Linked DNA regions of Homo sapiens: regions 1, 2, 3, 4, 6 and 7 are each linked to region 5. The links are contacts of gene promoters, found by promoter capture Hi-C in blood cells and fetal thymus (Javierre and others, 2016). All regions are on one chromosome and are shown on one strand. The core of a region is centred on a gene start or on the middle of the fragment in contact, and the rest is flanking DNA. Distances in the headings are between cores, read along the strand shown. Region 1 overlaps MIR193BHG (MIR193b-365a host gene). Region 2 has its middle 12 kb from the start of LINC02130. Region 3 has its middle 4.1 kb from the start of TRT-CGT2-1. Region 4 has its middle 29 kb from the start of LINC02130. Region 5 holds the start of ERCC4 (ERCC excision repair 4, endonuclease catalytic subunit). Region 6 overlaps MRTFB (myocardin related transcription factor B). Region 7 holds the start of MIR193BHG (MIR193b-365a host gene).

Evidence for each region. The method cuts DNA at HindIII sites, captures the fragments that hold promoters and counts their contacts. A CHiCAGO score of 5 or more calls a contact.
Region 1: a contact is called between a fragment that was not itself captured here and the fragment with the promoter of ERCC4 in region 5, in 1 of 17 cell types (M0 macrophages). The highest score is 6.9, in M0 macrophages.
Region 2: a contact is called between a fragment that was not itself captured here and the fragment with the promoter of ERCC4 in region 5, in 2 of 17 cell types (monocytes and naive B cells). The highest score is 8.0, in monocytes.
Region 3: a contact is called between a fragment that was not itself captured here and the fragment with the promoter of ERCC4 in region 5, in 11 of 17 cell types (M0 macrophages, M1 macrophages, erythroblasts and 8 more). The highest score is 14.7, in M0 macrophages.
Region 4: a contact is called between a fragment that was not itself captured here and the fragment with the promoter of ERCC4 in region 5, in 2 of 17 cell types (M0 macrophages and monocytes). The highest score is 7.0, in M0 macrophages.
Region 6: a contact is called between a fragment that was not itself captured here and the fragment with the promoter of ERCC4 in region 5, in 10 of 17 cell types (M0 macrophages, M2 macrophages, M1 macrophages and 7 more). The highest score is 18.3, in M0 macrophages.
Region 7: a fragment that was not itself captured here is called in contact with the fragment with the promoter of ERCC4 in region 5 in 13 of 17 cell types (M0 macrophages, monocytes, M1 macrophages and 10 more); the score reaches 10.3 in M0 macrophages.

The regions. Positions count from the first base shown.
Region 1 is chr16:14,316,413-14,319,414 of GRCh38, forward strand. The region is part of intron 1 of MIR193BHG (MIR193b-365a host gene); the gene reads left to right. Among named protein-coding and RNA genes, the nearest start is that of MIR365A, 8.6 kb to the left of the region's middle. The HindIII fragment of the contact is 3,035 bases long and covers 171-3,002 here.
Region 2 is chr16:14,356,296-14,359,524 of GRCh38, forward strand. No RefSeq gene overlaps it. Among named protein-coding and RNA genes, the nearest start is that of LINC02130, 12 kb to the right of the region's middle. RefSeq lists an enhancer at 906-955. The HindIII fragment of the contact is 5,355 bases long and covers 1-3,229 here.
Region 3 is chr16:14,280,158-14,283,382 of GRCh38, forward strand. No RefSeq gene overlaps it. Among named protein-coding and RNA genes, the nearest start is that of TRT-CGT2-1, 4.1 kb to the right of the region's middle. RefSeq lists an enhancer at 1,629-2,130. The HindIII fragment of the contact is 6,943 bases long and covers 1-3,225 here.
Region 4 is chr16:14,339,625-14,342,612 of GRCh38, forward strand. No RefSeq gene overlaps it. Among named protein-coding and RNA genes, the nearest start is that of LINC02130, 29 kb to the right of the region's middle. The HindIII fragment of the contact is 2,245 bases long and covers 295-2,539 here.
Region 5 is chr16:13,918,642-13,921,565 of GRCh38, forward strand. ERCC4 (ERCC excision repair 4, endonuclease catalytic subunit) reads left to right here and starts at 1,513. Exons shown (of 11, transcript NM_005236.3): 1 at 1,513-1,731. The coding sequence starts at 1,525. All of the region lies in intron 1 of LOC105371093 (a long non-coding RNA gene), which reads right to left. It overlaps LOC124903647 (a long non-coding RNA gene), which reads right to left and starts at 1,437. Exons shown (of 2, transcript XR_007065001.1): 1 at 1,038-1,437; 2 at 824-942. RefSeq lists enhancers at 1,097-1,146, 1,357-1,716, 1,757-1,966. The HindIII fragment of the contact is 6,939 bases long and covers 1-2,924 here.
Region 6 is chr16:14,258,631-14,261,826 of GRCh38, forward strand. MRTFB (myocardin related transcription factor B) reads left to right here. Exons shown (of 17, transcript NM_001308142.2): 17 at 2,279-3,196. The coding sequence ends at 2,814. Among named protein-coding and RNA genes, the nearest start is that of TRT-CGT2-1, 26 kb to the right of the region's middle. The HindIII fragment of the contact is 1,284 bases long and covers 1,179-2,462 here.
Region 7 is chr16:14,300,089-14,303,393 of GRCh38, forward strand. It overlaps MIR193BHG (MIR193b-365a host gene), which reads left to right and starts at 1,293. Exons shown (of 2, transcript NR_170633.1): 1 at 1,293-1,443. RefSeq lists silencers at 1,937-2,426, 2,711-2,871, 2,777-3,016. The HindIII fragment of the contact is 3,766 bases long and covers 1-3,305 here.

The DNA.
Region 1 (3,002 bases), core at 438-2,937, 400 kb after region 5:
TGAGCCACCGTGCCCGACCAACTCTGGCATTTTAACTCAAAAGTAGCCACAGATAGTACACAAACAAACGGATGTGGCTGTGTGTTGCAATAAAACTTTATTCACAAAAACAAGGAGTGGGCCAAACTTGGCCCACAGGCCGTATTTCCTGACTCCTGTTCCAGAGCAAAAGCTTATCCTTCAGTTAGAACATCATGAACTTGGCCCTGGCAACGTTCTTTTCTCCCCACCTGTGAGGTGACAGAGTTATGTTTCGGAACAGATGACCACTGTCTCTGGAGAGGTTAGGTTGGCTCCTCCTTCTTTGAGGGAATTCTGCAGCTCTTGGAAATTAGATCTATTAGGATTTCTTGGTGACAGCCACAATAGAATACCCTGGGGATTTCAACATTGTAATTTTAGTAGCTGTCAACTGAGTAACTTTTAAAGAGGAAAGAAAGTGTGGTAGTTCAGAAAAATACCTCAGTGGTTCACTTTGCCTGTGGAAGCCATTCTTTAAACTGAGAATAAAAATCTTTTTTTTTTTTTTTTTTTATAATCAGTGTCTTGCTCTGTTGCCCAAGCTGGAGTGCACTGGTGCCATTATAGCTCACTGCAGCCTTAAACTCCTGAGCTCAGGTGATCCTCCTGCCTCAGCCTCCTGAGTAGCTGGGACTACAGATGAACATCACTCTTGGCTTTTTTTTTTCTTTTTTTTGAGATGGAGTCTCGCTCTGTCGCCCAGGCTGGAATGCAGTGGTGCGATCTCGGCTCACTGCAAGCTCCGCCTCCCGGGTTCACGTCATTCTCCTGCCTCAGCCTCCTGAGTAGCTGGGACTACAGGCGCCCACCACCACGCCTGGCTTTTTTTTTTTTTTTTTTTTTTTTTTTGTATTTTCAATAGAGACGGGGTTTCACTGTGTTAGCCAGGATGGTCTCGATCTCCTGACCTCAGCCTGCCAAAGTGCTGGGATTACAGGCATGAGTCACCGTGCCCGGCCACTCTCGGCTAATTTTTTTATTCTTTTATAGAGTCGGGGTCTCACTACGTTGCCCAGGCTGGTCTTGAACTCCTGGCTTCAAGTGATCCTCCTGCATCAGCCTCACAAAGTGCTGGAATTGCAGGCGTAAGCCGCCATGCCCGGCTGAAAATAGCTTAAGACAGAATGGCAGGGGTGTGTGTGTGTGTGTGTGTGTGTGTGTGTGTGTGTGTAGGGAGAGGGTGGAGAAGAGAAAGGGAATTTCCCAAGAGGGCAGAGAGCTGGAGCCAAAGGATTCCTAGCAGGAGGGTCAGAGAGGAAGGTGTGACTTCTTTTTTTAAACAGCTTTATTGAGAGATTATTCACTTAACGTACACTTCACCCATTTAACATGTATGATTCAATGTCTTTGAGTGTATACACAGAGTTGTACAACCATCACAATCAATGTTAGAACACCATCAACTCAAAAAGAAACCCTGGGCCCAGCACTTTGGGAGGCCAAGGCAGGCGGATCATCTGAGGTCAGGAGTTTGAGACCAGCCTGGCCAACATGGTGAAACCCCGTCTCTACCAAAAGTACAAAAATTAGCCAGACGTGGTGGCGTGTACCTGTAATCCCAGCTACTCAGAAGGCTGAGGCAGAAGAATCGCTTGAACCCCGGAGGCGGAGCTTGCAGTGAGCCGAGATCATACCATTGCACTCCAGCCTGGGCAACAGAGTGAGACTCCATCTCAAAAAAAAAAAAAAAAAAGAAAAGAAACCCAGAACCCTCCCGCATCCTAATCCTCCAACGCCCCCAACCCTGAGCAATCACAAATCTACTTTCTGCCCCTGTGGATTTGTTTATTCTGCACATTTCCTATAAATGGAATCACACAATTAATGCGGTCCTTTGTGACTGGATCCTTTTACTTAGCAGGACGTTCTCAAGGTTCAGCCACACTGTAGCATGGATCAGAACTTCATTCCTTCTTACAGCTGAATCATATTCTGTATTATGGATGGGCCACCATTTTGTTTAACCACTGTCAGTGATGGACATACGGGTTGTTTACACTTTTTGGCTGCTATGAATAATGCAGCAATGAACATTCATGTGTTAGTCTTTGTGTAAACAGATGCTTTCATTTCTCTTAGGCATATAGGTCAGAGTAGAATTGCTGGGCCATAAGGCAACCCTATGTTTATCATTTTGAGGAACTGCCAGGGGCAAGTCTTAATATATTGCCTTTTTATTTTTAATTTTTGTTTTTATTTTCTTGAAACGGGGTCTGGCTCTGTCACTCAGGCTGGAGTGCAGTGGTGCAATCACAGCTCACCACAGCCTTGAACTCCTGAGCTCAGGCCATCTGCCTGCTTCAGCCTCCCGAGTAGCTGGGACCACAGGCACATGCCACTATGCCTGGCTAATTTTTTATCTTTTGTAACAATGAGGTCTTGCCATGTTGCCAGCTGGTCTTGAATTCCTAGGCTCAAGTGATCCTTCCACTTTAGCCTCCCAAAGTGTTGGGATTAGAGGCATGAGCCACTGTGCCTGGCCTTTATTGCCTTTTTTTTTTTTTTTTTTTTTTTGAGATGGACTCTCGCACTGTCGCCCAGGCTGGAGTGCAGTGGCGCCATCTCAGCTCACTGCAAGCTCCACCTCCCAGGTTCACGCCATTCTCCTGCCTCAGCCTCCCGAGTAGCTGGGACTACAGGCGCCCACCACCACGCCCGGCTAATTTTTGGTATTTTTAGTAGTAACGGGGTTTCACCATGTTAGCCAGGATGTTCTCGATCTCCTGACCTTGTGATCCGCCTGCCTCGGCCTCCCAAAGTGCTGGCATTACAGGCGTGAGCCACTGTGCCCGCCTTTTTAAACTTTGTATTATAGAGTTTAAATTGTGAGTGATGGCTCACACCTGTAATCCCAACACTTTGGGAGGCCAAGGCCAGAGGATCACTTGAGCCCAAGAGGATGGGACTACAGTCAGCTATGATCACATCACTGTACTCCAGCCTGGGCAACAGAGCCAAACCCTGTCTGTAAATAAATAAAT
Region 2 (3,229 bases), core at 251-2,750, 440 kb after region 5:
GGAAGAGGACACAGGTGAGATTCCTGCTGGAGCCACACAAATCACTCCGCAGAAAGACAGTTTGGATAATCAGGACAACATATCATTAGCAGGACATTTGAAGCGGTGCGTAATCGTGCTAAAAATATTAATTTGGAAAGAATCTTGAGGCAGCCAAATTTCCATTCGAATCCTCACCTCCTTTTACAATAGTTTTGGGAGCAGGGAAGGATCTGAGAGGGAATGTGCCATCTCTAGCACTTTTTTAATGACATACATGTATTTTTTATTCCACAAAGTGAATGCAGGCTTATTGCAGACAACTTGGAACATAACGGAGAAAAATGAAATCCATAAACCTACCCCCCAGGGGAGGCCTCTGTTAACCCCATGGTAGGTCGGCTGTTTTCAGCATGTGTGTGCTTTAGAATACGTTGATTGAAATATAACATATGTGCAGAAAAATGCATGGATCATAAATGTATAGCTTGATGGAATTTTCGGGCAAAAACTCCCATGTAATAAGCATCTGGATCAAGAAACGGAACATATGAAAGTGTGTGTTTTTTTGTCTTTCAAATTAAAAAAGTTTTTTAGAAACAGGGTCTCACTCTGTGGCCCAGGCTGGAGTGCAGTGGCACGGGTATGGCTCACTGCAGCCTCCACCTCCTGGGCTCAAGTGATCCTCCTCCTTTAGCCTCCCAAGGAGCTGGGACTACAGGTGCACACCACCAAGCCTGGCTAATTTTTTAATTTTTTGTAGAGACAGGGTCTGGCTATGTTGCCTAGGCTGATTTCGAACCCCTGGACTCAAGAGGATCTCCTGCCTCGGCCTCCCAAAGTGCTGAGATTACAGGCGTGAGTCACTGCACCCAGCCACCAATGTGGTTTTTAAACAAAATCAGGGCCCTATGGTGTTGTGAGCCCAATTATATTCCCCAAAAAGATATGTTGAAATCCTCACCCCAGCTACCTGTGAGTGTACCCAGTGGGCCTGCTGGACAACTTGATTTCTGTCTTCTGGTCTACAGAGCTCTGAGAAAATCCATTTCTGGTGCTTTAAGCTGCCCTGTTTGTGGTGATTTTTTACAACACCCCTAGGAAACTGAAACGCGTGGGTACAGGCAGCTTAATATTTTTTCCTGATTATGAAAGTCACCAAGTTCACCTCTCACCTGGACACACGTACCAGCTCCTGGAGTGATCTAAGAATGTCATCTTGCACAGCCGGTGACTGCTGCAGACACATCAAATGATGTCAGCTCTGCACCATGCCCTGTGGCCTCGGGGACAGCGAGCAGACCATGGGTGTTGGGAAGGAGGGCCTGGGAGGGGGAACAAAGACCCCACTGACAGGAGCAGGGTAAGGGGCCTGGCTCCTGCTATTTCCTGGCCAGGCTGACCCAGTCCTGCCTCCCAGTCTTTGCCCCAGGCTCCTCCTCTGTCCATCACAGGTAGAGCCATTGCTCTAGTGCTGGCTGGGTCCCCTTGGCCCCAATGGGTGGCCCTGCCTTTCCTGGCACCTTGGTCCTGTAGTGGGGGGCACCCCAACCCAGCCCCATCTGCACCCTGGAACCCTCTGAACCTGAGAGGCGGTGGGTTGGTATTTTCACATCCTAAGTGAACAGATATAAGCCCAGGTCATAAGTTTGCTGGTTCAGAGACATGAGAAGGGCTACACAGTGAGGTTAGCAATAACTTTGGCTTTCCCAAGAGCTAAAAAGGCTGCCTTGAGGCTCTGGGACTAGTTGAGAATGGGCTACAAGAAGATCAGTGGGGCTGGGCATTGTGGCTCATGCCTGTAATCCCAGCACTTTGGGAGGCCAAGGTGGGAGGATTGCTTGGGGCCAGGAGTTCAAGATCAACTTGGCCAAAATAGCAAGATCCCATCTTGTAAAAAAATGCTCAGGGGGCAGCACAAATATTTGGCATCTTGTCTGGAAACCCAAAGACCTGAGATGAGGAAGAAGAGCTAATAGATCAGCAGCAGTGGCTGAGGATGGCCCAGAGTTCACATCTGTCCATAGAAAGGCAGCAAGGGGTGATGTTTGAGGCTGGAGCAGGAGGGAGGCAGGTGACCTGGGGAGTGTGTGGCCTTCTGCAGTCTGGGTGCATTTTCTCACCCACTGTCTGCGTAGGTGACGGATATGGTTTGGCTTTGCGTCCTCACTCAAATCTCATCTTGAATTGTAATCCCCACATGTCAAGGGAGAGACCAGGCGGAGGTAATTGGATCATGGGGGCAATTTCCCGGTACTGTTAGGATAGTGAGTTCTCATCAGATTTGATGGTTTTATAAGGGGCTCTTGCCCCCCGTCACTCGGCAGTTCTTCCTGCCACCTTGTGAAGAAGGTGCTTGCTTCCCCTTTGCCTTCCATCATGACTGTAAGTTTCCTGAGGCCTCCCAAGCCATGCTGAACTATGAGTCAATTAAACCTCTTTCCTTTATAAATTACCCAGTCCCAGGCAGTTCTTACAACAGTAGAAAAATGGACTAATACAGTGACACTCTCAAGAGTAGAATGCCAGGGACATTTTCCCAAGCCCAGAGGTGAGGGCCGCCTCCCTCCTAACAAGACCAGGCAGCCCAGGACGGGGAGGAACCCCCGGGGCAAGTCTGTGCCCATTTTGGGCAGGGCCCTGGCAGGGAGTGAGGCAAACCTCAGCCCACATCTGCTCATCACTTCCCCTGCACCTCCCCAGCAAGGCTCTGCCCAGCAGATCTTGGCACATTGTCAGCACTCAACAGATATTTGTTGGATGTGTTGCTGGCTGGATAAATAGGTGGATGGACAGACAGACGGATGGATGGATGGATGGATGGATGGATGGATGGATGGATGGATGGACAGGCAAGCAGAGACATGGAGAAACAGATGATTAGATGGATACACAGGTGGATGCATGGGTGGATAGACAAATGGATAGATGGATGAATGCTTTATAAATAAATGGCTGGATTATATGGATGGATAAGTGGATGGATAGATGACAAATGAAGAGACAGATGAATACATGCATAGATAAATGAATTAATAGATGGATGGGTGAATAGATCAATGAATAGATAATAGATAGCCAGACAGACAAACGGCTGGATGGTTTTGGAAAACTTTAGGACAGAGAAGGACAACTCACTGGTCCAAGGTGCAAACTGGGTGTGGTAGGAGCAGCCCAGTATTAAGGTGAACCTCATCACCCAGCAGGAAGAGCCCTGGGGAGGGGATTTGGGCAATTCACACACCTGCAA
Region 3 (3,225 bases), core at 522-3,021, 360 kb after region 5:
TCTGTTCCATGCAGGCAGAATGATAAGAGAAATAGCAATTTTGTTCTTTCACTGTCTACTGCTTCTTATATAGATCGACCCATTGTCTACTCTGCATGCTAATGTTGTAGCTCAGATAATCTGGTTGACCTTTTTAGAGCTTATCTAGGGGGAAAAAAAGGAAAGGGAAAAAAGAACAAAACTTTTTATTATTCATAGCTGCCAACTTGATCTTGTTCTGGCTCTGGAACGAACCAATTTAAACAGATACTTTCCAAGGTTAGAGAGGTTCAAAGATTGATTTGATGAGGTGATACCAGGGCATCCTGTACAACTGTAATTTCTGTGCAGGAAAAAAATCTACTTTTCATCCCTATAACATTTTGTGTGTGGTTGCCATTATTTGTTAAGGGTGTTGAAATAATCATCATCACCTCTCTTTTCAAGCCAGAAGATTTTTGGTTACACAGACCACCCATCTTGCTGCATTCTGCCAGGGCTGACACAGTTCCCACATGTGGCAGGGATTTTCACTTGGACAGACTGTTAAAAGGAGGTGAATACAGTTACCATAATCATTCCAACTACTCCTCCACTGAAAAAAAAAATCACAGGAAACTCACATAATTAAATTCCAAAGAAATGAATTCAAAATTAAAGACTCACAGGCATCAGCATCAAACAATGGGGAAATGAAATATTCATGGATAGGAAGATTCCATACTGTTAAGTCATCCATTCCCCCAAATTCATCTGTAGATTCAACGCGTTCCCAATCAAAATCCCAGAAGGCATTTTATAGAAACTGATGAGCCGATTCCAGGAATTATATGGAAATGCAAAGGATCTATTATAGGCAAAACAATTTTGTAAAAGAAAAACAAAGTGGAAGGATTTACAATACTTGATTTTGTACCCACTATAAATATACAATAATCAAGACTGGTGGTAATTGCCATAAAGATGGACATATGGATCAACAGAACAGAATAAAAAGACCAAAAATAGACCACACACAGTTCATTGAATTTTAACCAAGGTACCCAGGCAATTCAATGGGGAGAGGGTAATCATTTCAACAAATGGTGCTGAGGCCCAGCATGGTGGCTCACACCTGTAATCCTAGCACTTTGGGAGACCAAGGCAGGAGGATCACTGGAGCCCAGGAGTTCAAGACCAGCCCAGGCAACATAGCAAGACCCCCCCCCCAACCCCCGACATCTACAAAAGAATTTTAAAATTAGGGCCAGGCGACGTGGCTCAGGCCTGTAATCCCAGCACTTTGGGAGGCTGAGGTGGGCGGATCACTTGAGGTCAGGAGTTCAAGACCAGCGTGGTCAACATGGTGAAACAGCATCTCTATTAGAAATACAAAAATTAGCTGGGCCCACGTGGTGGCACATGCCTGTAATCCCAGCTACCCGGGAGGCTGAGGCAGGAGAATCCTTGAACCTGGGAGGCAGAGTTTGCAAGTGAGCCAAGATCATACCACTGCACTCCAGCCTGTGTGACAGAACAAGACTGCGTCTCGAAAAATAAATAAAAATTAAAAATTAGCCCGGTAGGCATGGTGGCATGTGCCTATAGTCCCAACTACTCTGAAGGCTGAGGCAGGAGGACCAGTTGAGCCAAGGGCTGAATCAGGAGAATCACTTGAGCCCAGGAGTTAGAGGCTGCAGTGAGCTATGATCATGCCATTGCACTCCAGCGTGAGTGACAGAGCAAGACCTTGTCTCTTTAAAAAACAAAAAGAACCCTGCCCATCCCTCACAACACAGGGCCCCTGCCTCAAGGAGCTGGGATACTGTGAGTAGCTAAGTGTGCTTTCTTTAGGTAAAATCTTTATTTAGGGTGTTAGTAAAAAGCCCGCTGTCATGACCTCAGATGACCTAAATATCCAAGCCTGAGGGTTTTTTCTCTTCCACAAGCAAACGAATTTCTCCAGGAATACTTTAAAGCAGTGCTTCCCAAAGTGAGGCCCTGGACCAGCTGCAGCAGCATTAACTGGGAACTTAGAAAGGCAGCTCCGCGGACCCAGCCCAGACTAACTGAATCAGCCTGCATTTTCATGAAATCTGCAGGTGCCACCCAGCCACCACCAAGGCTTACTGAGATAACGCAGGTGCCAGCCCCTCACAGGCCAGGAAGAGCCTCTGTTGCCCACCCTCACTCTGTGGAAGGCAGCAGGCACCAGGCACACAAGGTGAGCCAGGATGGAGGAGCTGGGGGAAGCCCAGGTCCTCCCTGGAGCCAGAAAGTGTCTTGGAGACATTGCCATTGAATTGTTCAGAAACAATTTTTCAGACACCCACAGCTGTAGCTAAACCACTTTAGATAGATATTGTATCTCGGTAGGGCTTAGGTTAATCAGGCACCATCAGGAAGGGAGAGAGGAAGTAAAAAGGCATTCAGCCTTCTAAGACCCTCAGGAGGTCTTTTTGAAAATCTAATAACGGCTGGGCGCGGTGGCTTATGCCTGTAATCCCAGCACATTGGGAGGCTGAGTCAGGTGGATCACGAGGTCAGGAGCTCAAGACTGGCCTAACATGGTGTAACCCCGTCTCTACTAAAAATACAAAAATTAGCCAGGCGTGGTGGCACGCACCTGTAATCTCAGCTACTCAGGAGACTGAGGCAGGAGAATCACTTGAACCCAGGAGGCGGAGGTTGCAGCGAGCTGAGATTGCACCACTGCACTCCAGCCTGGGTGACAGAGCGAGACTGTCTCAAAACAAAAACAAAAACCCCAATAAATTGTGACATCCCTCTTCCAGGAAAACTATATACGCACTTTATATATACTTTTGGGGAAGTCACACGTTTCCTGGGCTTGAGTGCATGGGCTCAGGTTAAGAAATTTTTGAGACAGTCTCACTCCATCTCTGCTCACTGCAACCTCCGCTTCCTGGGTTCAAGTGATTCTCCTGCCTCAGCCTCCGGAGAAGCTAGGACTATAGGCATGTGCCACCACACCCAGCTAACTTTTTGTATTTTAGTAGAGACGTGGTTTCACCATGTTGCCCAGGCTGGTCTTGAACTCCTGAGCTCAGTCTACCCAACTGGGCCTCCCAAAGTTCTAGGATTACAGGCATGAGCCACCTCCGGCCTAAGAATTTCTACTTTACAGACAGGCACAGGGAAATAGAGGTGCCAGAAAAAGCCAAAAAAGATTAAAGACATATATATGTATATATTTTGTTTGTTTCTGAAATAGAAAAGAGTGCCTAAGTTTCAACACAAAGGAAA
Region 4 (2,988 bases), core at 167-2,666, 420 kb after region 5:
TATAAGAGGCCAAGCCAGGATTTTAACCCAGGTCTCCCATCCTAGGATCTGGGCCTCTCAGAGGCAGAGACTGTGGTCACAGAGATGAAGAGGATAGTGTCCCTGATTACCAACAAATACCCTGCCAAGTCATCCATGTGAAGAGAGGTATGTCCCGGGGTGGGTTCCCTAGACACTAACGTCAATGTTTTATTTATACAACAATCAATTGCTGCACACCTACCATGTGACAGTCACCATACAAGGTGTGAGGCATGTGGCAGTGAGCAACAGACATGGTCTGTGATCTCATGAAGCTTGACATTTCAGGAATAAGACAGACAAAAGTAAATCAACAACCAAACAATTACAAAATACACAGAGTATTGAGAAAGAAACCAATAGGTACTGAGGAGAGAAATTTATGAGTAGAATAACTTTAGATCATGTGATCAGGAAAGATTGCTCTAAGAAGACAATGTCTAAGCTGGGTCTACAAGAATGAAACATACAAAGAGTTGCAGGAAAAATATCTGGGTAAAAGGAACTGCACAGGCCATGTCCCCAAGGAAGAACAGAGCCTGAGATTTCTAGGTCTGGCTGCAGCAGAGCGAGTCGGGAGGAAAGTGAGTTAAGACAAAGATGGAAGGAAGGATGGGCCAGGCCAGATCATGCCAGCCTTGGAGGCTACATGAAAGAGTTGGGAATTTTCTCCTAGTATGTTGGGAAAGTAATGGGAAGTTTTGACCAGAAGAGTAACATGGTTTTCTTTTTCATTTATTTTCTTTATTTTTATTTGTATTTACTTTTTACTTTTTAAATTAATTTTTGATTGAGTGGATTCAATTAATTGGATGGAGTGCAGTAGTACAATCATAGCTCACTGCAGCCTCAAACACCTGAGCTCAAAGGATCCTGCCACCTCAGCCTTCCGAGTAGCTGGAACAACAAATGTATGTCACCATGCCCGGCTAACTTTTTTTAGAGACAGGGTCTTACTATGTTGCCCAGGCTGGTCTTAAACTCCTGGCCTCAAGTGATCCTCCTGCCTTGGTCTCCCAAAGGGCTGGGATTACAGGTGTGAGCCACCATGCCTGGCTTATTTTACTTAGATTTTAACAGATACCTTTGCTGTATGGACAACAGATCAAAGAGAGGCAACAATGAAAGGAGGGATATTAATCAAGCTGTTGGTGCAGTTACCTAGGTCAAAGATGGTGGTAGCTTGGGCCAGGGCAATGGCTGTGGAGTTGAGAAACACATTAATTTGAAATGCATTTTGGAAGAATTGATAGGACTTAGAGATTGGATTGGAGGGTGAAAAGAGATATTAGAAATTAGCTTGACCTCTCCCAGAGGTGGACTATAAGACAAGGACTTGAGTGATAGAAATCATTTACATAAGAAGGGACTTGAGGGCTGGGCGCAGTGGCTCATGTCTGTAATCCCAGCACTTGGGGATGCTGAGGTGGGTGGATCACCTGAGGGCAGGAGTTTGAGACCGGCCTGACCGACATGGTGAAATCCCATCTCTACTAAATATAAAAAATTAGCCAGGCATGGTGGCATGCACCTGTATGTAATCCCAGCTACTTGAGAGGCTGAGGCAGGAGAATTGATTGAACCTGGGAGATGGAGATTACAGTGAGCCAACATTGCACCATTGCACTCCAGCCTGGGAAAGAGCAAAACTCCATGTCACACACACACACACACACACACACACACACACACACACACACACACAAAGGGGACTTGAGGAAGCATGGGTAGGAAGTGGGGAAGAGAGTCAAGAAAGGAAGCCCACCCACAGGGGTGTGTTATGAAATGAGTTACCTCTGTGGGCAACTGCAGCTCAGTCTCACTCAGGAACTTTGGGAGATAATGTTGAACATACACTGTTCTCATCTGAGAGGCAAGAGAGCTGGGGTATTTATACTCCAGACCTTGCCAGTCATTGGTTGAAAGCTGCTCCCAGGGAGTGTTAATATGCCTGTATTAGTCCATTTTCACACTGCTGATAAAGACATACCCGAGACTGGGTAATTTACAAAAAAAAAAAAAAAAAAAAAAAAAAGATTTAATGGACTTACAGTTCCATGTGGCTGGGGAAGCCTCACAATCATGGTGGAAGGCAAGGAGGAGCAAGTCACCTCTTACATGGATGGCAGCAGGCAAAGGGAGAGCTTATCAGGGGAACTCCTCTTTATAAAACCATTAGATCTCATGAGACTTATTCAATATCATGAGAACAGGACGAGAAAGACTAGCCCACATGATTCAATTACCTCCCAGTGGGTTCCTCCCACAACAGATGGGAATTCAAGATGAGATTTGGGTGGGGACACAGCCAAACTATATCAATGTCAGTATTCTCTCCTGCTATGCGAAAGGGTTGAATGGGCTCCAGAAGTCAGAAGATGTCCTCGGGCAAAGAAATGCAAGTGCCAAAGTTGGAAGCCAGGCCAGGGACAGGTTGATGGGATACATCTCAGTCACCAACAATGCCTGCCACCATTAGCAATGACTCATGTATTCTGGGTTTGAGCAAGTGAAAGTAAGCTTTTTTTTTCCTTTAAAAAATAATAGAGATGGGGTCTCACCATGTTTTCCAGGGTAGTCTGGAACTCCTGGCCTCAAGCAATTCTCCCCCTCAGCCTCCCAAAGTGCTGAGATTACAGACATGAACCACCATACCCAGCGAATAAGTAAGTTCTACATTCATGGAGTCCTCCATGACATCTTTCCTTTACTTCAGTGGCTCTCTTTTCTCCCATCTCAGCCCTTCTGTTACCAGACTATTTTTTTTTTTTTTTTTTTTGAAATGGGGTCTCACTCTGTCACCCAGGCTGGAGTGCGGTGATGCAATCTCAGCTCACTGCAACCTCTGCCTCTGTGTTCAAGTGATTCTCCTGCCTTAGGTCCCAAATAGCTGGGATTATAGGCGCCCGCCACCACGCCTGGCTAATTTTCGCTCTTGTAGCCCAGGCTGGAGTGCCAATGGCTCAA
Region 5 (2,924 bases), core at 263-2,762:
TCACTGGCAGAACTGACGAGATTAATATCTGCCTCAGAGGAAACGCTGTATGTAAAGTGTCTGCCGGCAACCCTTTCCACTTAAACAGCATTCAGGAATTATATGCTATTTTCATCTTGACAAAATGTAAGCAAAATACCAGATTAAGCAGTAAAGAGGTAGAGGAACAGATCCTCTTGGAAACGGCTAGTGTGAATGTGAATTGGTATAGGCTTTCTAGAGGGCAATGTGGCAATGTGAATGGAATGAAAAGCCTTACAAATTTTTTTCTCTTTATCCCAGTGATTATTCATTTCTAGACGTGTATCTGAAGGCCACGGCTGAATTTACATACAAAGATGTTTAGTGAAATATTATTTATATTACTGGAAGGGAAAAAGCAGAAACAGACTAAATGTCCTCTAATAAGCAATTAGGTAAGTACACCCACATAATGGAAATCTCATCAGCCATATAAAAGGACTTTGTAAAAGAATATGAAACATCATGTTCAGAGGTTTGCCAAATGTTAATGACAAAGCTGGGGATTTAAATCAGGGATATTAATTATCTCGTGTCGGTAAAAGAACTCCGTGTGATGAGAGAATGTGTATATAGATAGAAAAAAAAGGACTAAATAAAATAGATTTCGTGATGTTAACAGTGGTTATTTCCAAGTAATGGAAACAAGTGATTTTCATTTTTGTTTACTTGTATTTTCTATTTTCTAATAACAAAGGTGGGGGGTTTCTATACAAAACAATTCCTCTACTAGTTCAACTATCAGGCATTTCTAGGTATAGAACAAACACTGCGGGAGGTGTCCCTCTAGTGGAAGGAGGGATTTTTAAAAATAGTTTATTGTATTGAAGTCTTTGGGAGGCAAACAGAGGTCTGAAGTCAGTAAATGATTCTGCTTATTCCACAGCCACTGCACTCCAGCCTGGGCAACATATCAACATCCTGTCTCGGGAAAGAAAAAAAAAATTAAAAGAAGGATGGGGAGTAATCGCAAAAGGAAGGGCCAAAAACCACCCTAGGAAACAGGTGCTACTAACTCTTGGCGCATTTGGAATATTGACCAGTAACTTTTTCAACTGTCGATGTCGGGGGATTAAGCTCCTTAGGCTTACTTCCCCTTCCCTTGCTTTTTGGCAGCTTGAGGCTAGGGTGCCAGGGGATGTGGAAACTCAAAAGAGACGTGAATGGAGCCTGATATCTGCAAGCTACACCGACAGGGGGCGCCAGCCCCTACAGGTGACTCCATGAATCTTCGGCTCCACTCGGCTCTTCTTCGGCTGAGTTCGGCCAACGCTTGCCTTCTCAGGCTCGGCTCTCTTCGGCTTTCTGAGAGCGCGCCTGTCGTGGCCTCGGCTCCTCTTCGGCTGCGTTCGGCCCACGATCATCTCAGTCTCAGCTCTCCTCGGCTACGTTCGGCTGGCTGCCGTCCTCTCGGACTCGGCTCTCTTCGGTTGAGTTCGGCCTACTCTCCACTAGGAGTCGGCTTCCTTCGGCTGCGTTCGGCTGCGACCCGGAAGAGCTTCCATGGAGTCAGGGCAGCCGGCTCGACGGATTGCCATGGCGCCGCTGCTGGAGTACGAGCGACAGCTGGTGCTGGAACTGCTCGACACTGACGGGCTAGTAGTGTGCGCCCGCGGGCTCGGCGCGGACCGGCTCCTCTACCACTTTCTCCAGCTGCACTGCCACCCAGCCTGCCTGGTGCTGGTGCTCAACACGCAGCCGGCCGAGGAGGTGCGGCCGCGCTGGCGCGGGAGTGAGGGGACTCCGAGAGTGTTGAGGGCCTCCTGAGCGGATGCGAGGCCTCTGACAGGGATGGAGGGGCTCTGAGGGGGATTCAGGCCCCTGACACTACGCGATGACACAGAGAAGGATGGCAGGGGTCCCCAGGGGGATGCAGGTCCCTCACACTGCGGGAACACAGACGTATGTAAGGGGTCGCTAGGAGGATACCGGTCGCTCACACCGTGCGGGGACACTGATAAGAATTGGAGGGGCCCCGAGAAGGCTGCAGGTCCCTGGCAGGAGTTGAAGAACACTAAGAGGAATGCCAGTCCCTGACACTGTGCGGGGACTCTGAGAGGGAAGGGAGGGGTCCCAAGAAGGATGCAAGTCTTTGACCAGAGTTCAAGAACACTAAGAGAAATGGGAGGGGTCCCCAGGGGATGCGGGTCCCTGACACTGTGCAGGCACAGTGAGAATGATGGAAGGGGTCCCGAGAAGGATGCAATTCCCTGACAACACTAAGAGGGATGGGAGGGGTCCCCAGAAGGATGCAGGTCCCTGACATGGGTGCAAGGGCACTGAAAGGTGAAGGGGCTCTGAGTGGTAGGAGAGGATCGGAGGTCGCTGCAGGGGAGGGGGAGATGTCGGAAGGAGGATCTGGATAGGAATAACGGGAGAGTCCTGAAGTTGGCCATTAAGGGAGTTTCTGGGGGCAGAAGGAAGGTCCCTGAAAGGGAACAGTGATGAGGATGGAAGATCTCTGAGGGTGATGGGGAGACATGAAAGGAGATGCTGAGGCGCTGGAAAAACCCCAATAGGGAAAAGGAGGGACCAGGAAATAGGACATTCACCAAGGCTGTGTTAAGAGGGCCATAGGGTCAGAAAGGGATTGGAGCTTGACGCTGAGGATGTTGGCAAAGGTTAACTACAGTTAAGGACAATGGAGAACACTGAGAAAGATGGAATGGGGCTACACATGGGTCTGAGGGGTGTTGAGAGGGGACACAGCTTGGTCGGACAAGTCTGATGATCCCCTAGATATATCAGGTGGCCGGGAGAAAAATGTCAGCTGAGAAGAGTGACCACAGTCTCTTTGAGGGCAGGGATCCTGTTTGATTCATCTAGGTATCCCCAGTGCTTGGCATAGGGCCTAAGGCAACACACAGGGCCTAGTAAAGATGGTTTTAAACTGGGGATATAAA
Region 6 (3,196 bases), core at 571-3,070, 340 kb after region 5:
CAGATTTAAATTCCATGTTGAATAGCTTCAGAACTTGTTCCATGCGTATGTCATTGTAATGGGATGAAAACATGCCAATACTATCTTAATTATGTTACATCAAGCCACTTAGCATGGGCTCCAGTATCTTTATTAAAATTCAAAGTCAATGCTAAAGCATTTTCTACAATATAATATGAAGTCTTAGATTTATATCATCTTTATTAAAAAGAGACATTAGCCACAAAAAGAATCAAGGATATTGTTGCCTCAGCTTACATATCTTTGAAGTATAAAAATCAATATTTAAAAAAAAATTCCTGGATAGTATTTGCATATTTGGAGTAGTCTTAAAATTACCCTGATGAAAGGAGTTTTATTTGAATTTTCAAATAGTGGTCAGAAGTTCTCCATTTATAGCAGGTATTATTTGACACTGAAGTTGACGTTGACATAGAGAATTGATATTTGACTACAGATCTACACACACAAATAGTATTTTTTGCTAAGAATTATATTGGCCTTACAAAAATAACTTCAGCCGGCCAACCCCCGTGGCTTATGCCTATAATCCCAGCACTTTGGGAGCCCGAGGCAGGTGGATCACTTGAGGTCAGGAGTTCAAGACCAGCCTGGCCAACATGGTGAAACCCCCGTCTCTACTAAAAATACAAAAATTAGCAAAAATTAGCCGGGTGTGGTGGCAGGCACCTTAAACTTGGAAATTAAAATGTGACACAATCAAGCTATTTTCTAAAATGAGATTTTTTTTAATGACAAAGTATCCAGTAAGTATATTATTTCATCTTGTCTACTAATATCAGTAATAACGAGAACCAAGTTTTATATAGTTACAAGACTAGTTACTTGTGACACCGTGCCTTGCCCTGCCTGTAATCCCAGCACTTTGGGAGGCCACGGCAAGCGGATCACCTGAGGTCAGGAGTTCAAGACCAGCCTGGCCAACATGGTGAAACTAAAAATACAACAATTAGCTGGGCATGGTGGAGGGCACCTGTAATCCAGCCACCCAGGAGGCTGAGAGGCAGGAGCATCACCAGAACCCAGGAAGTGGAGGCTGCAATGAGCTGAGATCATGCCACCGCACTCCAGCCAGGCTTGGCAACAGTGCAAGACTCCGTCTCAAAAAAATAAAAATAATAAAAATAAAAAAGACTAGTTACTTAGATGACACTTAAAGCTTTCAAAACAGTTTTAGAGATGACTACTGATAATTAAAAGTAACAAACCATTCAAAAATAAATGCAGTACACACAGTTGACAATTCATTTATAGGAATCAAATTTTAAGTTCCTTCTCTCAGCCATTTGCACATAGCAATCATTGAGCTTTAAGAGGTATTGTTAATTTATTTTTCCTAGTGTATCTGCATATAAATGAAACCAATCATAGCCTCATAAAACTTAAGATACTTCATTCATTTATGTAGTTTAGTGAACGCCAGTATTTATAGAAGATGGTCTGTTAATTTGCTGCCTGATCTGGCAAGGAATAACACATAATGAAGACATTTACCAAATCATCAAAATTTTATATAAGCTCAGAAAACAAGACCAAAAAGTGAAAGAGATAACCAAGTGATCCACCTCACCTTAAAAGAAAAGGATCAAAGGAACCATATGTTAGCTTTAATTCAGAAATGAAATCAAATGTCATTGTATATTTTCAGAACTTTACACAGAATGCACATGGCTAAATTGGGTACCCAGTCCAACTGTAATGATAAAAAAAAAAAAAAGGAAAAAAGAATGTAATTACCTCTTTCATAACATTGAGGATGTACTTCATGTCTCAGCACAAACTCAGGATGTACATTTCAACATTTATATTAGGAGTATCATGTTGCTATAGATAGATTCATAGGATGATATGAGCCCTATCTTAAAACTTTAATGACAAAATAACGACTCAAAGATAAAATAATCTAAAACCATTGATACCTATCTAGTGAGATATAACTGCTTTTAATGCTTAGTCTTACTGAGAAGAATTTAAAGCATATCAGAATGTAATAAACTGGTCTTGGACAGTCTGCTGACTAAATTTACAACAAAAAGGAATGTAATAAACTTTTATGTTTATCTATTTGACTAAAATGATCCATCATCCTAAAGGTTGTCAAGGATTGTACCTGACCAATAGCATTCTCTTCCTACTTCTAAGACGGACGTGCATAGAAGGAATCGCATAATAGCAATGTAACTGTCCTAGTAATTAATAAAAATTTTTAAGTAGTAGTAAATCTTCAGTTACTAATTACTTCATTTATTTTACACAGAGATCTCCCTCCCCATAAAAGAAGAACCTTCTCCTATTTCCAAAATGAGACCAGTGACAGCCAGCATCACCACAATGCCAGTGAATACAGTGGTGTCCCGGCCACCACCCCAAGTCCAAATGGCACCACCTGTATCTTTAGAACCTATGGGCAGTTTATCTGCCAGCTTAGAGAACCAACTAGAAGCTTTCTTGGATGGAACTTTACCCTCAGCCAATGAAATTCCTCCACTACAAAGCAGCAGTGAAGACAGAGAGCCCTTCTCTCTGATCGAGGACCTCCAGAATGATCTGCTGAGTCACTCAGGTATGCTGGACCATTCACACTCACCCATGGAGACTTCCGAGACCCAGTTTGCTGCAGGTACTCCCTGTCTGTCTCTCGACCTGTCAGACTCAAACTTGGACAACATGGAGTGGTTGGACATTACCATGCCCAACTCCTCTTCAGGACTCACTCCTCTCAGCACCACCGCGCCGAGCATGTTCTCTGCTGACTTTCTAGACCCACAGGACCTACCGCTGCCATGGGACTAACGTCACAGATTTCTTTTCTGAGAGTTGATGAGGTTTAAGAACATGAAGATTCTAAAAGGTCAGTTTTTAGAGATAGATCTATAGTTGCATTGTTGCAATCAAAATATGTTGTCACAGAAAGAATAGGTGGAAGGTCATAGCCTGGAACCCAAGTTTGAAAACATTTCATTGTGTTCAGTAGTGAATTTCTACAGTTTAACATAGCACAGGGCCTTCTGAAAATCGCACTTGTCAAAGACGACTCATCTATTTCTCCAGACTTCAGTAAAGAATGAAAAGTACCTTTAGATAAAAACAAAGAAGAGTAATATATGCAGCACAGTGACGTTAGGATTCTGGTAATTAACTACATTTAAATCTCTGGTCACTTTAAGACCCTAAA
Region 7 (3,305 bases), core at 457-2,956, 380 kb after region 5:
ACCCCATTAACTTTTTTGTATTTTTAGTAGAGACGGGGTTTCACCACGTTGTCCAGGCTGGTCTCAAACTTCTGACCTCAAATGATCCACCCGCCTCAGCCTCCCACAGTGCTGGGATTACAGGCATGAGCCACGGTGCCTGGCCTAGCCTCAGTCTTTCGATCTGGAAAATGGGTAAGTTCAGTAAGTTACTATTCTTCATGTGCTTAGGTCTCGGGGTGGGGGGGAATGGGGACTGTTATTATCAGTGATCAGCTGTTGCCTTTTGTGCTACATTTCCTCTCCAAGTTGCTATTGGAAAAACCATCCCAAGGTCCCCCGTGCCCCACCGACCCCGGGTCCAGAGTGAACACAGCCTTCCTTGCCTCCCCTAGAGCAAGGAAGAAATCCCTCCAGATTTCTGGAATTAAGGCCCAATGAGGAAAAGGGGACATGAGCAAGTCCTGTGCGTCGGCTGCAAGATAAGAAAGATGACCCATAATCCCAGCACTTTGGGAGGCCGAGGCGGGTGGATCACCTGAGGTCGGGGGTTTGAGACCAGCCTGGCCAACATGGTGAAACCCCATCTCTACTAAAAATACACAAATTAGCTGGGCATGGTGGCGCATGCCTGTAATCCCAGTTACTCTGGAGGCTGAGGCAGGAGAATCGCCTACACCTGGGAGATAGAGGTTGCAGTGAGCCGAGATCGCGCCACTGCCCTCCAGTCTGGGCAAGAGGAGTGAAACTCTGTCTCAAACAAAAAAAAAAAAAAGAAAAAGAAAGAAAGAGGATGGAGAGGGCAGGGACACCACAGGCAGAAGGAGAGGAGGCCAGCTCGCTCCCCTTGGCTGGGGTCCCTGGGACCTCCTCTGTGGCATCAGGACTGCCCGCTAAGTTGGGTGGTGTGTTTTATGAGCGTGACCTGTGTTGGCCAACAGAGGACAGCAAAATACATTTTTTATGATCCTGGGAGGTTCAGGCCAGTCACGTTTTCGCGCAGAGAGGCTGGGCGGTGGAGAGGGACAAGTCATGTCTCAGTTATGTGGATTCTCTTTGCGAAAGAGGGGCCACTTCTGCAATGGATTTGGGGGTCCCTGGGCAGGGGTGTGGGGGTGGGGGAAGATTTTAGGAAGGGGATGAGCTGCTGGGGGGGGGCATCTCCCTTACTGCGGGAAATGAAAAGTATTACAGCTATGGCTGGTGAGAGTGTCAGCACCAGAGGCCAGATCTTTGCCAGGTGGAGGGGACACCCTTGTGCCCTACCCCCAAGTTCCAGCACCTCTCCAAGAGCCCTTAGCCCCGGAAGCAGCAACAAAGTGACATTGGACTGGGGAGGAGGAAGCACAACTTTATTTTCTGGCCCGAAGCTGGGTTGGTATTTGGGGGAGTTCTTGGGAACACAGTGTGTCTGTGCAATTTCAACCCTGGGGGATCCAGGGGACTCCAGCCATTCCAGAGGAGGTGAGAGACCGTCATGGGGTGGGTGTAAGAGGCTTGGGGAACCTGCCTGATGCTGCTCCTACTTTTACTGTTTGTTCACGGGGGTTGTGTGTGTTTGTGCGGCGGGGGAAGCGGGGGGTGCTGAAAATTGGGGGAAGGGCCAAAAGCGCCAGCTGGCATTGGCACTGGGTGTTCCCGAAAGAGGGGGACAGACCGGGTCTGAATCTTCAGTGGATGCGCCCCTAGCTCCCGGATACCTCAAGCGCCTTTGGAGGACTCCAGCACGCCCCTCGGGAGGGAAGCCCGGCCTCGGTTCCGTCTGTGGGCTGCGGTGGTACTGGAAGTGGGGACTCTTTCCCCCTCCTCCGTGCCCCCTGTTTGAAGCACCCCGGGCTCTGCCCCCCGCCCCCAGGGTCGAGGCTGACGTCGCCGCCGCATTTCTAGGAATGCCCCTATCCGCTGACTATATTTGGCGAGCGTTTCTAGGAAGGCGCCCCCCCACCCCGGCCCCCGCCCCCACCCCCACCCCCACCCCCACCCCCACCCCCACCCGGGCGGGCGCGCTAGGCTTCCAGGCTCTCGCCCTCTCTGCCTGGCCGGGGAGGAGCCGCCCCGCCGCCTGGGCCGCTGCCGCCGCCGCCTCCCCAGCGCGGCCAACCCCGGGCCGGCCCAGCCCCCGCCCCGGGCCGGCCATAGGGCGCTGGGGGGTTGGGGGGGGCGGGGGCGCGGCTTTGTGGCGGCAGCGGACCGTGGAGGCCGGGTGCAGCCCCGTCGGCTGCGCGCTCTCTGCAGAAAAGGATTTTCTACGCTCCCCGCCCATCACTTGGATCTCGTCTGGGGAGGGGCGGATTTTTTTTCTGGAAGTACCCTTCTTCTCCACGGTGGAGGATTTAAGGCTGGGCTCCAATCGAGGCGGAGGCTGCAGGGCCCGCGGGGCGCCCCCCGCCCGGCGCACGCCTGCCCGGAGCCCGGGAAGGCGCAGCCCTGGGTGGGGGGGCCCGTGCACCCCCGGAGGCGGCAGCGGCGGTGAGTGCTCCCCTTCTTCCCGCCTGGCACCTTCCGCCAGCCAAGGCAGGGATCGCGGCAGGTGGGTGCCCAAGCCCCCAGGGCCGAAGGGGTGTGGGGCGGCTGTCTGCGGGGTGGATGGGAACGGGAGAGGGGAGGTGGCGGCGGGGGAGCGCGCGGTTCTCTCGGGACTCGGCGCGAGACGCTTGTCTGGGCTGCGATTGCCGCCGCTGCCGCCACCCCGGCTCCCCCTCGGACCCCTCCCCCGCTCCCCAGAGGGGCGTGTGAAGCCGGGAGGTAGGAAGGGGGCGAGGCCGCCCCCAGCCTCCCTAGTGCCTGGGCTTGGAAATTGACGAGGCGGTGGAGCGTCCGCGTCCCCGCCCCCACCCCGGAAAGCCCGCTCGGGAAACTGACTCGCTGCGTGACCCCGATCTCAATGCCGCGCGCGGAGCAGGCCGGCCGCGCCCGCCGCTCCACGTGCGCCCGAGCCCCGCTGGCATGGGCGGCGGCGCCTGCGGGGGCCGGGCCCCGGGGATCCCGGACTAGCCGGGAACCACCGTCCCCAGAGAGTTACCGCCGCCCCCTAAAGTTGTCAGCTCCCTCCCCCCGAGAAGCAGGCAGCCCTGGCGCGTTGGCTTTAGCTTCTGCAGGACGGGGGCAAAAAAACTAGGTTCCGGGGTGCGGAGCGGGGTGTCTGTGCCCGAGACAACACCAAGTTAGGAAAAAGAAGTTAGAAAAAAAAAGAAAAAGGCATTTTGATTTGGGGGTGGGGGGAGTGGCGTTTCTGGTTTCTCTTTGCTTCCAATCCCCACCAAGCGGAGCGTTGGAATGCGCCGCTTATGTCCTCTGAGGACACATCCATATTTATAATTTATTTT